Regions from separate parts of the Homo sapiens genome. Here region 1 is linked to region 2. The links are contacts of gene promoters, found by promoter capture Hi-C in human tissues and cell types (Jung and others, 2019). All regions are on one chromosome and are shown on one strand. Each heading gives the region's core, a stretch centred on a gene start or on the middle of the fragment in contact. The rest is flanking DNA. Distances are from core to core; before and after follow the strand shown.

Region 1 (5,968 bases), core at 3,113-5,612, 740 kb after region 2:
TAGCTGGGATTACAAGCGCCCACCACCATGCCTGGCTAATTTTGTATTTTTTATATTTTTAGTAGAGATGGGGTTTCACTGTGTTGGCTAGGCTGGTCTCGAACTCCCGACCTCAGGTGATCTGCCCACCTCAGCCTCCCAAAGTGCTGGGATTACAGGCGTGAGCCACGATGCCCATCTTTTTTTTTTTTTTTTTTTTTTTTTTTTTAATTTGAGATGGAATTTTGCTCTTGTCACCCAGGCTGTAGTGCAGGGGCACGATCTCGGCTCACTGCAACCTCCATCTCATGGTCCAAGTGATTCTCCTGCCTCAACCTCCTGAGTAGCTGGGATCACAAGCACACGCCACCACGCCTGGCTAATTTTTGTATTTTTAGTTGAGACGGGGTTTCACTATGTTTGCCAGGTTGATCTTGAACTCCTGACCTCAGGCAGTCCACCCACCTTGATCTCCCAAAGTGCTGGTATTATAGGCGTGAGTCACTGTGCCCGGCCCAAATCAGACTTCTTTAATGCTGAAGGCCACACTTTTTCCCACTGCATAGCACTGCTTACCAATCTAAATAGATTTCACAACTGATTTGGTAGCCTGACCCTTGGTGTCAAGCTGTTCGTCCTTCCACTGCTTCTATCCTGGGAGAAGTGTAAAGCTCATTTGCTTTTGTTCTTTTACAAGTAAAGCTTATAAATGATAATGTTTGTGTTTTGACATTTTAGTCTGTGCTAAAGACGCTGTGAGCAGTACTAGCAACACTTCACAATTTATTCTAAATCTCACACCAGGTTCTGCGGCATGAGGAATTTGAAGAAGGCTGCAAAGCTGCCTGTAATGGGTATGATACCTTGTTTCTTAAAATCTCCTTTAGGCTCTGACTACACCCGGATAACAGAAGACAGTTTCTCAAAGTGAGTATAAAGCAGTGGAATTAATTAAGGAGGCAGTAAATTAGGGAGGCAACTTCAGGAGCGTCGGGAACACATACTGTTTCTCTGCACTCTCATGAGTATAAAGCAGTGGAATTAATTAAGAAGGCAGTAAATTAGGGAGGCAACTTCAGGAGCGTCGGGAACACATTTCTCTGCACTCTCATACAACACCTGTGGGACACAAAGGGATTCTCCAGCTCTCTAACACCAGCCGGCTGTCCTGTTATTTAATTGATTCTGACTCTACCTGGAGTTAATGTCAGATCCTGCAAGTTAAGGGCTCAGTCCCAGAAGATTTTCCGCCACGTCAGGCGCCGGTCACAGTCTGGATCTTCAGGATTTCCGATGACCAACTACAAGTCAGGGCTCCCGCTCCTGCTTCCTTGGGTTTGATAGTCTGCTACAGTGGCTCATGGAACTAAGGGAAACGCTGGAAACACTTACTTACATTTACTGGTTTATCATAAAGAGTACGAGTCAGAAATGGCTGGACAGAGGAGATACACAGGGCAGGGCATGGGGAGTGGGTGGCAGAGCTTCCATGCTCTTCTGGGCAGGCTCCAATCCAGCACCTCCCTACGTTCAGCATCCCAGAAGCTCATGAGTCTCATTGTTCAAGCCTAATAGAGCCCAGTCTCCATCCCTTTCCTTCCCAGAGGTTGGTGGATGGGACTGAAAGTTCAGTCCTCTAATCATTTGTCTTTCTGGTGACCAGCCCCATCCTGAGTCTATGTAGAGGCCCCACTCTAAGTCACTTCATTAGCATAAACTCAGGTGTGACTGAAAGGGGCTCATTATGAATATAACAAAAGATATTCCTATCAGGAAATTCCAGAGGTTTTGGGAGCTCTGAGACAGGAACCAGGGACAATGACCAGATATGTTTCATATTATGCCACAAATGCAAATAAGTACATGCTCTAGATGAAGCAGCGGCTTTCCAGTATCTTTTTTTTTTTGAGACAGAATCTCACTTTGTCACCCAGGTGGGAGTGCGGGGTCATTATCCTGGCTCACTGCAACCTCTGTCTTCTGAGTTCAAGCAATTCTCCTCCCTCAGCCTCCCTAGTACGTGGGACTATGGGCATGTGCCACCATGCCCAGCTAATTTTTGTATTTTTAGTAGAGACGGGGTTTCACCATGTTGGCCAGGCTGGTCTCGAACTCCTGACCTCAGGTGATCCTCCCGCCTCGGCCTCCCAAAGTGCTGGGATTACAGGCCTGAGCCACCACGCCCGTCCATCTCTTAAGCTTAGTACCGTGACAAGTTGGAACAGTCCAAGGCCTATTAGGAATTTCATGCTTGTTGATTGATAGTCAAGGAAATAACAGGTCAGTTGGAGAACTGTCTTTAGGATTCTGTTCCTTGCTTTACAGAAAAGGTGAACAAATCTTTCCTTCAGGTAGATGCTGGATAGTCTTTGGAGCTTGTAGTAGGGTCCCATGAGCACTGCCCACAGCTGCTTTCTGTACCATCTGAGGTCATCTCATCCTTAAGAGAACTTTTAGGACCAGACAGGAATGCTCATCTCTCTGTGCCCAGTAGTTCTCTGGGGGTGGCCTGAGGCTGACTTGTCTGTAGTCACTGAGTTCATTTACTTTTATTTTCTAGGCCTTATGATGGGAAATGGAGTAAAACAATGGTGGGATTTGGGCCTGAGGATGATCATTTTGTCGCAGAACTGACTTACAATTATGGCGTCGGAGACTACAAGCTTGGCAATGACTTTATGGTAAATACCGTTTTTTTCTAGCAGAGTTTTGGCTGGGGGTAGGTGGCTGGTTGTAAATTTGAGTAGAGTGCCAAGGGTGTGTGTGAGTGAAGAGATAACATTTGAGCAGAGACTCAAAAGAGGTCAGGGAGTTAGCCACGTGGATATCTGGGGGATGCGCGTTCCAGGCAGAGAATATTCTGGCAAGAGCCGTCAGGTAACATCTGGCGTGTTCGAGGAGGTGTAAGGAAGCCAGTGTGGCTGGAATAGAGAACGAGAGGGGAGCGTGGTAAGAGATGGGGTCGGCAGTGCCATGGGGTAAGACTGCAGGGGGCCTCCTAGGCCGTAAGTCACCGAGTGAAATGAGCCATTGGCGGACTTTGAGCAAAGGGAAAACAAGGCTGGCTGCAGTCTGGGGGTGGACTATAGGATGCGTTTTGGAAAGTTTACTTTGGCTGCAGAGTGGGTAATGGATTTACAAGACTGGAGGCAGAGAGGCCATTATAATAAACCGAGCCAGAAACAAGGCTGGTCTTCTCAAAGCACACGTGTACATTTCTAGGCACTTTGATTAAATGTAAGGAAACCTTGATAGTTTGCTTATTTTTGTTTTGTTTGTTAAAAAAGCAAGAACAGGTCACCTTAAATAGGTAGCTAGCTGGCAGACCCAGGTAACATCAAGATTTCTGTGGCTAGATCTTTAGAATTAGAAGACGTTATCTTTGGTGTTAAATGAATCAGACTTCACTGGCATTTCAATTTCTGTCCTATTATTCACAAAGGTCTGAATGTTTGTGGGATAAAACATTGAAAACCTGTTTTTAAATCACTAGAAGAAAATGTTGGATGCCAGTTAAATCTTAGGTGATTTTACCTAAAGGCAGTAGGCAATAGGGGTTGGGCTCATTGTCTTGTTCTGTAAAATATCTGTTGTGATCATGTACTTGGATGTACTGTTGTTTGTTGTAGGGAATCACGCTCGCTTCTAGCCAGGCTGTCAGCAACGCCAGGAAGCTGGAGTGGCCACTGACGGAAGTTGCAGAAGGTGTTTTTGAAACCGAGGCCCCGGGAGGATATAAGTTCTATTTGCAGAATCGCAGTCTGCCTCAGTCAGGTAATTATACCAGAACCAGTAAAAGCCTCTGTCTAAAGGCATCTTTGGTGAAAGGAGAGTGAGGGCTGCCTGTCTTTTTTTTGTAGAGTCTGTGTTCACGTGACGTGTCTTCCCCAGCCAGTGCTTTTACCTGTTATCGGAGAGACTACATTCTCATATCAGAACTTAAATACATAGCAGTAGGGGATCTAGACTAGTTCTGTTCTACTGGTAATGTAGTGATTTATGATTCTTTCATCTGTAAATAACAGAAAACCCAACTACTTTGAACAGTTATAGAATCTTTTAGCTCACAGAGCAGGCATTCTATAGGTGGGAAAGATTTCAAGGTTAGATGATTCACCAGCTCCCCACATTTTCTCTTTCTACGTTCTGTTGTTCTCTGCGGGTACCTCTCCTAGAACTAGTCCCCTCAAGGTTGCAGGAGAGCTGCCAGGAGCAGGTGGGGCCACATGCTCCCACAATCCCATCTGGTAGGAGAGGAGATGCTGACTTCTTTTTGCTTTTTTTTTTTGAGACTCTGTCAGTCCGGCTGGAGTGTACTGGCATGATCTCTGCTCACTGCAACCTCTGCCTCCCGGGTTCAAGCAATTCTCCTTCCTCAGCCTCCCAAGTAGCTGGGATTATAGGCGCCTGCCACCACGCTCAGCTTTTTTTTTTTTTTTTTTAGTATTTTTATTAACTTTTAAAAATTATTTGTTTTTTGAGACGGAGTCTTGCTCTGTCGCCCAGGCTAGAGTGCAGTGCTGCAATCTCGGCTCACTTGCAACCTCCGCCTCCCAGGTTCAAGTGATTCTCCTGCCTCAGCCTCTCCAGTAGCTGAGATTACAGGCACATGCCACCACGCCCAGCTCATTTTTGTATTTTTAGTAGAGACAGGGTTTCACTATATTGTCCAGGCTGGTCTTGAACTTCTGACCTCACTTGATCCGCCTGCCTCAGCCTCCCAAAGTGCTGGGGTGACAGGCGTGAACCACCGTGCCCGGCCCTTTTTGCTTTCTTTTTAGGAGCAGAAGAAAAACTTTCCTAGAATCTTCCAGCAAACTTCCTGTTCAGATTTGATATACTGTGCCTGCTCCTAAACCAATCACTGGCAAGAGAAATAGGATCACCCCCAAACCATTTAGCCATGCCTCCTCTGGAGCCGAGGTCAGTTTCCCAGACTTGAGCGTGGGTACTCAGGGATGGCATGGAAGTGAGGAGCCCCCACGCTGACTGCCACACAGAACAAGAAGGAAACTTTGCAGGGTTTGTTTTGTTGACTGCAGAGGCAGCCTCATCAGTGTTTCATTTTGTATTTAATGCCTGCAAATTCAGCTACCTGCTCTGACAAAACAAAAGCAAAAACGGGGAAAATGCTGGCGAATGGCAAGGGCACTTGTGCCGACTCCCTTACTTGGTGAACGTATGCCTGCAAGTGGGCCTGAGAAGGGAGTCCTGGAAATTCTCCTTCTTCACTGGTCGGCCTCCTGTCCCCGATGCCCCCATGCTGAGTCTGTAGAATGTTCAGTGCTCCTTGTTTATCATCCGGTGCTCAGCAAAAGAAAGATCCGTCTGTTCCAGTGTGGGAGGCTAGACTTGGCTGTGTGGGACTCGTGGAGAGATGGTGTTTCTCTGCCTCACTGGTGATTTAAAGGGTGTTGATGGTGTTTTTTTGTTGATAGGTGATTGATCCTTTGCTGACTTTAAAACTTAACGCTTGCAGCTAGCTCCACCATCCATTTTTTCTCTCCAGCCTTAGTGATATTTCAGTGCTTAAAATAATAGAGAGCCCCATGGTGCTAAGAAGCTTTTGTTCTTTGGAATGGAAATCCCCTTGGGCATTTCTGGTTGACAATGTGGTCAGACCTTCTGTCCGGCTGGCATTCATCTTTCCTTTGAATTACCCACTTCTGTGCAGCTTCACCCACGCGTTAACTTCCTGTCCTGCGTCCCTTCAGGCTCCAAGTCAACTGGGATTTGTTGATTTTGAAGTAAATGGAAAGAAAAAAATGGAGCCTGCCAGGCGGAGGCACTTGTGAGAAACAGCGTCTTAATCCCAATATTGCTGTTCTAGCAAACAGGACTAAGGCAGTAAAGCCAAAGAAAAATGTACTGAATTTATCGTAGTCAGATGGAGACGTGGAACAGCTCTTTAGAAAGTCACTTTACAATGTGAAAAGTTTCCAGTAACAGTAGGTGTTTCAATATGACTTTTATTCTTTTTACAAAATAA
Region 2 (5,744 bases), core at 2,681-5,180:
TAGTTTTGCAAGACAGTGGTCAACAGGAAGACCCAGCAGCTCCACCCTCCCAAGTGACAGGCCATTTTCGGACGCAGCCGTTCTGTGCCCATTCTTCAGGCAACTTTCGATTCCTTACTGTAGCTAATTCTAGATGCCCTTCAGTATTGTGAACAAATAGACCGTCTGGTGTCACAGAGCCCGCGTGTGCAGGAGCCTGCTCCTCCGAGATACGTGGCGTGTAGGTTGCTGTAGTTACAGCGCCTCCGTCTCTCTCCATTGTGTTCCGATCCATTTCTGTGTGTTCCCCCAACCTTTATTTCCAAGTGACATTTTCAGTCTTTCAAATAGCTGCCTTTTGTGATGTGGTGATTTAAATGATTTAAGTTCATTTGTTCTCAACCTTGGGGTAAACTGAGGTATTTTGCTTCCTGGGAAGATCTTCGCAATTTTGAGTGCTCCTGTGGGGAGCGGGGATGAGCTAAAGATACAATGTTTCCCTGCCCCGCACCGCTTCCACAAAATAGCAATGTGGTTTTGCAGCTCTGACTTCTGCTCCCAGTAACCCATCGTTAGGGCACTCTAGCACTATGGAGGTACCCAAGGCTCAGCCAGTCTCTATTTAAGAAAATTTAACAAATACGAGTAACCCTGTCCCAATCACTGAATCTCTAGTTACTACTCTTAGAAACACCTGTGGCTTCTTGGCCCTCCTGTTGCCCGCTCTGAATCTCTCTGCAGTCTACAAAATCGCCCCAGTCAACTCTCCACTTGGAGGGAATTGTCCAGTGTGGCCCCTAGAATTGAGTCACCCCCTAGATACCAACTGTCTGACCCCGAGGAGCTCTGTAAGTCCCTGCTCCTCCTCTTCCCTTTGGGGCTGGTGCTGCCACTCAGCAATAATCCTCTTTTCTCTGTGCTTTCTTAGGTCCCTGTCCTCTGTCTTTGAGGCTGGTTAGGAAGCAAGAGTCCTGATCTTTCATGCTGCACAATATGAGCATGCAAAAAGCTTTTTCCAGCAGAACATGTTCCCTCGTCTCCAGTTGCCGGAAAGGAATTTGGGGATCAAGAACTTAGCTCGTCCTACCCCCATGTTGAGTTCTGCCCTGGAAAACCCAAAGCAAGTAGTGATCATAGTACAGAACCCGACCAAAGTAGGCTGGTGAGGAAGTCCAGGCTCCAGGGGAACAGACGCTGCCCAGTGTTCATAGCTTCCTGCAACTTGACAGAGCCTGAGTTTGCCTCTTAGTGGGAGAATGAGAGAGAGCTGTAGTGTCACCTGACATTCCCCAAACCTTGTGAAGCACGTTGGCCTAAGTGTGCCGTGATCCCAGCCCACACTAGCCTGGGTGCATCTGCTAATGGGAGACCAAATCTTTGTCCGGGAAGCAAGAAGTGGGTGGGAGAATGTATCCTGTTTTTGTCAGTTTGTTTGCCTTACTCATTTCTAAGTGCAATAAGGGAGTGTCTCACAGGATTGCACCTGTGACATCCTGATGGATGCTTCCCTGTGGCCCTCCTGGGGCAAGGGTGGACAGACTCAGACCCCCAGCATGGTTAGCGCTGACCTTCATTGAGGTCCCTTTGGAACCAGATGTCTTGTTACAGACACCTTCCTCTGTGTAAGTCTCCTCACCTTGAGGGGTCTTTAGTAATGCATCTGGGTAGCATCTCAACTGCTGGTAGCATTTATCTGACTTGGAAAGTTGGAGAAGAGGCATTCCTACTGGAGAAAAATGTCAGTGTTTTCCTATAAGCTCTGTGTTAGCTATTCATTATATTTGTGCTTAAAGATGTTCCTTCATTCATCAACTAGGGGAAGTCCAGATGCGGGTTATCTTGAAAGAAACAAACTGACATTCTAGGCAGACAGTTGTCTATGTGGTCTGAGGGTCAGCAGCTGTTAGTCTCCTTCCTTTGGCTCTTGAGACCCACACATATCACTTTAGCCCTAACAAGGGCTCCTCCCACCTCCACCTGTTGCCCCAGTTGAAAAGCATCCATTATGAGCTGAGGTCAGCCTGGATCTGGAATTGCAGCCCACATAAACATAAAGGAGGATGTCCCTGGTCTGTTCCATCCCCACGGATGGTGTTGCTGCTGGGCAACAGTGTTGGCTTCTTTTAAGTACCCCCTTTCCTCCTCACCCACCTCCAAACTGACTAGCACTCAGAGGGACTTATGATAAAGGTTCAGCTCCAGGGGTAGTACCTGAGTGTGTGCCATGCCCCTTCAGACCAGCTGCTTCCATCAGAATTCCAGGGTCACAGCCCCAACAGAAGCAGCAGTGCCTCTGTAGGAGGGGTGCTGGGCTCTGGCCTTCTCATGCAGAGAGGTCCGGGACAGGGTCAGTATCGTGGGCATGTGTATAGCTTCCCAAGTTCTTTTACAGTCCCTGCTGGGACTCCCTGACTTACTTTGGTTGGTTCCTAGTGCTACTTGTTTTACAAACTACACTTTGTAGAATTGATTAGATTACCTTGTTTATTTAATGTGAGTTTGTGCCTTTTTGTCTCAATCTTCCAATACAGGTATATTGAGAAAAAAAGCAGTCTAATAAAATCCTAGACAGAACTTTCTGGAGTCCAGTTTGGTGATGTCCATTTTCCAGCTGTATGTATCCTCAAACTTGCACTGATAACCGCCATTTTACCAGGGCAGGATTAGGAAGAGGTACAAAGGTGTGTCTGAAAATTTTTGCACGTGGATTTCTGCATATAATAGTCCCGTGTCAGTTTACTTATGCAAACATTGCACATCTGAATTGTAATTCGGCCGTTTCCTACTGACAGGATGTCCTTTTGCTTTTGTCTGCCTCCTCTTCACATCTTCCTCTTTATCCACCCTACCAAACAAGCAAAACATTTATTTAAAGTAGTTTTAGGCCGGGCGCGGTGGCTCACACCTGAAATCGCAGCACTCTGGGAGGCCGAGGCGGGTGGATCAGCTGAGGTCAGGAGTTCGAGACCAGCCTGACCAACATGGCGAAACCCCATCTCGGCTAATTATTATTATTATTTTTTTTTTTTGAAACGAAGTCTCGCTCTGTCGCGCAGGCTGGGGTGCAGTGGCGCAATCTCGGCTCACTGCAACCTCCACCTCCCGGGTTCAGGCGATTCTCCTGCCTCAGCCTCCCGAGTAGCTGGGATTAACAGGCGCGCGCTATCAAGCCCAGCTAGCTTTTGTGTTTTTAGCAGAGACGGGGTTTCACCATGTTAAGGCCAGGCTGGTCTTAAACTCCTGACCTCAAGTGAGCCGCCCGCCTCGGCCTCCCAAAGTGCTGGGATTACAGGCATTGAGCCACCGCGCCCCGGCCTACGTTTCATTTATTGACGGCTAATTCTGTAGGAGTCCAGGAATCCCCAAACGTCCCATATGCAATAGGTAATCCAATAAGTTTGGAGTAGAAGCCTGAAAGTGGGCGTGGAGAACGGAGGCGCTCCCGCAGTAGCAGGAATGGGGAGATTACCTGCAGCCGGGGGGCGGGGGAGACCGGATCCCAGGCAGGACAGTGGCTAGGCTGCGTGTCCCCACCCCCGACCCTCGTTTGACCCCTGGGAGCCGGGGCGAAGACAGCACAAGGACGGAGCCCTCGGATCCCTCACGAGTGGGGCAGAGGCTGCGGCGGCGGCGAAGAGACAACTTCCGCCGGAAGACGGCCCCTGGCGCGGGGCACGCTGGGAGCTGCGGACGGCGGGCGCGGGCTGGGCCGGGTCTAGTGGCGGCCGCACACCTCGCGTCGTCTGGGGCAGTGTTGCGCGTGCGCTGATGACAGGCCCGACACGCCCCTCTTACGTCCGCGAACCCGTCTTCGCTCAGCCTCTCGCAGCTTTGCGCTCGTGGGAGAGTCCCGCCTCCTTCTGCGAACCGCACCACCCAGATCCCGGGGTGCGCGGAGGGCGCGTCTCTGACGGAAGCCGGGGCGGACGGTCGGAGTCCGGAAGAAAAACAGTCCGCGACAGCTAGGCGCGTGAGACCGGCCGCCCGCAGGGCTGCTCTGGCCGGGACCCGCTGGCCGGGAGACGCGAACCTGCCGGACCACCGCGCGGGGACGACGGCGGCCATGAGCTCGCGGAAGCTGAGCGGGCCGAAAGGCAGGAGGCTCAGGTGAGGGCACCCTGGCGGCAGAGGCAGGCCTGCTCGGGGGGATCGGCGCCCCTTGGGCTGCGGGCTGGGGGTGGACAAGGCACCAGACCTCCATGACTGCCTTTGGTTCAGAGGCGCTCTCGCCTTCTCCCACGCCTGTGTCAGGTGGGCTGTGTTGGGCCCGAGCCTCGCGCCCCCTCTAAGCCGAGGCCGCCAAGCTCGTTCCCACTGGGGCGCAGCAGGTGTCCCGGTTGCTTTCTGGAGAGGACAGCCGTGTGGGGTTGTTTGAGGTTAAAGACATAACGAGGCCGTCACCCTTCGGCTCTCGGTTAGAAATCTTTTTCCTACTTTTCATCAGCACATACATCAGGAGGTCTGCCTGATCCCATGGTGAACCCCGGGAATCCGAAATCAGATTGAGATAAGATCCTTTAGGGAAGTGACTTAGCCTGGTCTCTTGCCTGCTCTTTCACGGGGAACAACGCTAATCGCCCACTTAGTCTAAGTCACGATGCTTGGATTTGCTGCTAATCGTCGGATTTGAGAGTGGGAACAAGAAATCCGGACTTTTGCTCTCCATCCTCTTAGAGTGAGTCTGGGAAAAGAAGTCTCTGAGTAAAAGGTCTTTGTTCCTTAAGCCTCTGTCGGACAGCAGGGGGAGATCGTAAACAAATGAAGCTCAAAATCTCAGGCCGAGTGCCTGGGAAGGTGGTTTCTGTATAGTGTTGTTTATGCTAACAGGGAGGGACAGGAAGTTGCTTTAAACTGGCCAAGAATTTCTTGAAGTGCTTTTGAGAACGTCGACCTCTAAGGACGGGGTCTGTTGGAGGAGAGATGTTTTGGCATTAACTGCCCTTTTCTCCCATCCCCCTGTACCCTCTGCCATTCCAGATCTCCAGCTGCTGCAGGTACTCCTCATCGTGTGCCTAGGACTCATGCTAGGCTGTTCCTGGTCTCTGCAGGGTCTGTAGCTCCTGCCCGCTCTGTGCTCCGCACAGTCTGAGGCTTCTTGAAGAGCTGCTGTGACTGACTGTTCCACTAAAGACATCTGTAGGTCTCTCTTTCCTGAGCCTCTGACTGGATCCAGTGTCATTGAGGCCCCTTATCTAGTTTTCTTGCTTCCCTAAGACTTGTAAGCTGAGGTGGAAAATATCCAACTGATGACTTTTCCCCAGAGAGTACTCTTTATTTTTCACGGAATACTACGCAGACATAGAGCATAGACTCTTAAGAGAGATGTCGAGAAACCTGTTACTTAAAAACTCCTTGGCCGGGCGCGGTGGCTCAGGCCTGTAATCCCAGCACTTTGGGAGGCTGAGGCGGGCGGATCACCTGAGAGATCAGGAGTTCAGGACCAGCCTGGCCAACATGGTGAAACCCCGTCTCTACTAAAAATACAAAAGTTAGCCAGATGTGGTGGCACACACCTGTAATCCCAGCTACTTGGGAGGTTGAGGCAGGAGAACTGCTGGAACCTGGGAGGCGGAGGCTGCGATGAGCCGAGATCATCCCAGTCCACTCCAGCCTGGGCAACAGAGTGAGACTCAGTCTCAAAAAAAAAAAAAAAAAAAGTCTCGCTGAAGTGCTTGGCAAAATTGGCTTGCTCCAGGGATCTGCTAGGGAGGAGAGAGGAAGGGAATATGGTGGTGTTATCTCTTTTATTTTTTAAATTCCTCTGC

Evidence for each region. Contacts are between HindIII fragments. The study calls those that stand out against the background at their distance.
Region 1: a contact is called between a fragment that was not itself captured here and the fragment with the promoter of INPP5K in region 2, in 1 of the 25 tissues and cell types used here (dorsolateral prefrontal cortex).

What each region holds. Positions count from the first base shown.
Region 1 is chr17:773,560-779,527 of GRCh38, reverse strand. It overlaps GLOD4 (glyoxalase domain containing 4), which reads left to right. Exons shown (of 9, transcript NM_016080.4): 2 at 784-833; 3 at 2,540-2,660; 4 at 3,609-3,753. Among named protein-coding and RNA genes, the nearest start is that of GLOD4, 5.7 kb to the left of the region's middle. The HindIII fragment of the contact is 5,864 bases long and covers 1,431-5,968 here.
Region 2 is chr17:1,514,798-1,520,541 of GRCh38, reverse strand. It overlaps INPP5K (inositol polyphosphate-5-phosphatase K), which reads left to right and starts at 3,930. Exons shown (of 12, transcript NM_016532.4): 1 at 3,930-4,086. The coding sequence starts at 4,043. It overlaps PITPNA (phosphatidylinositol transfer protein alpha), which reads left to right. Exons shown (of 12, transcript NM_006224.4): 12 at 4-2,824. PITPNA-AS1 (PITPNA antisense RNA 1) reads right to left here and starts at 3,623. Exons shown (of 2, transcript NR_028514.1): 1 at 3,449-3,623; 2 at 2,446-2,824. RefSeq lists a silencer at 3,545-3,844. The HindIII fragment of the contact is 13,245 bases long and covers 1-5,744 here.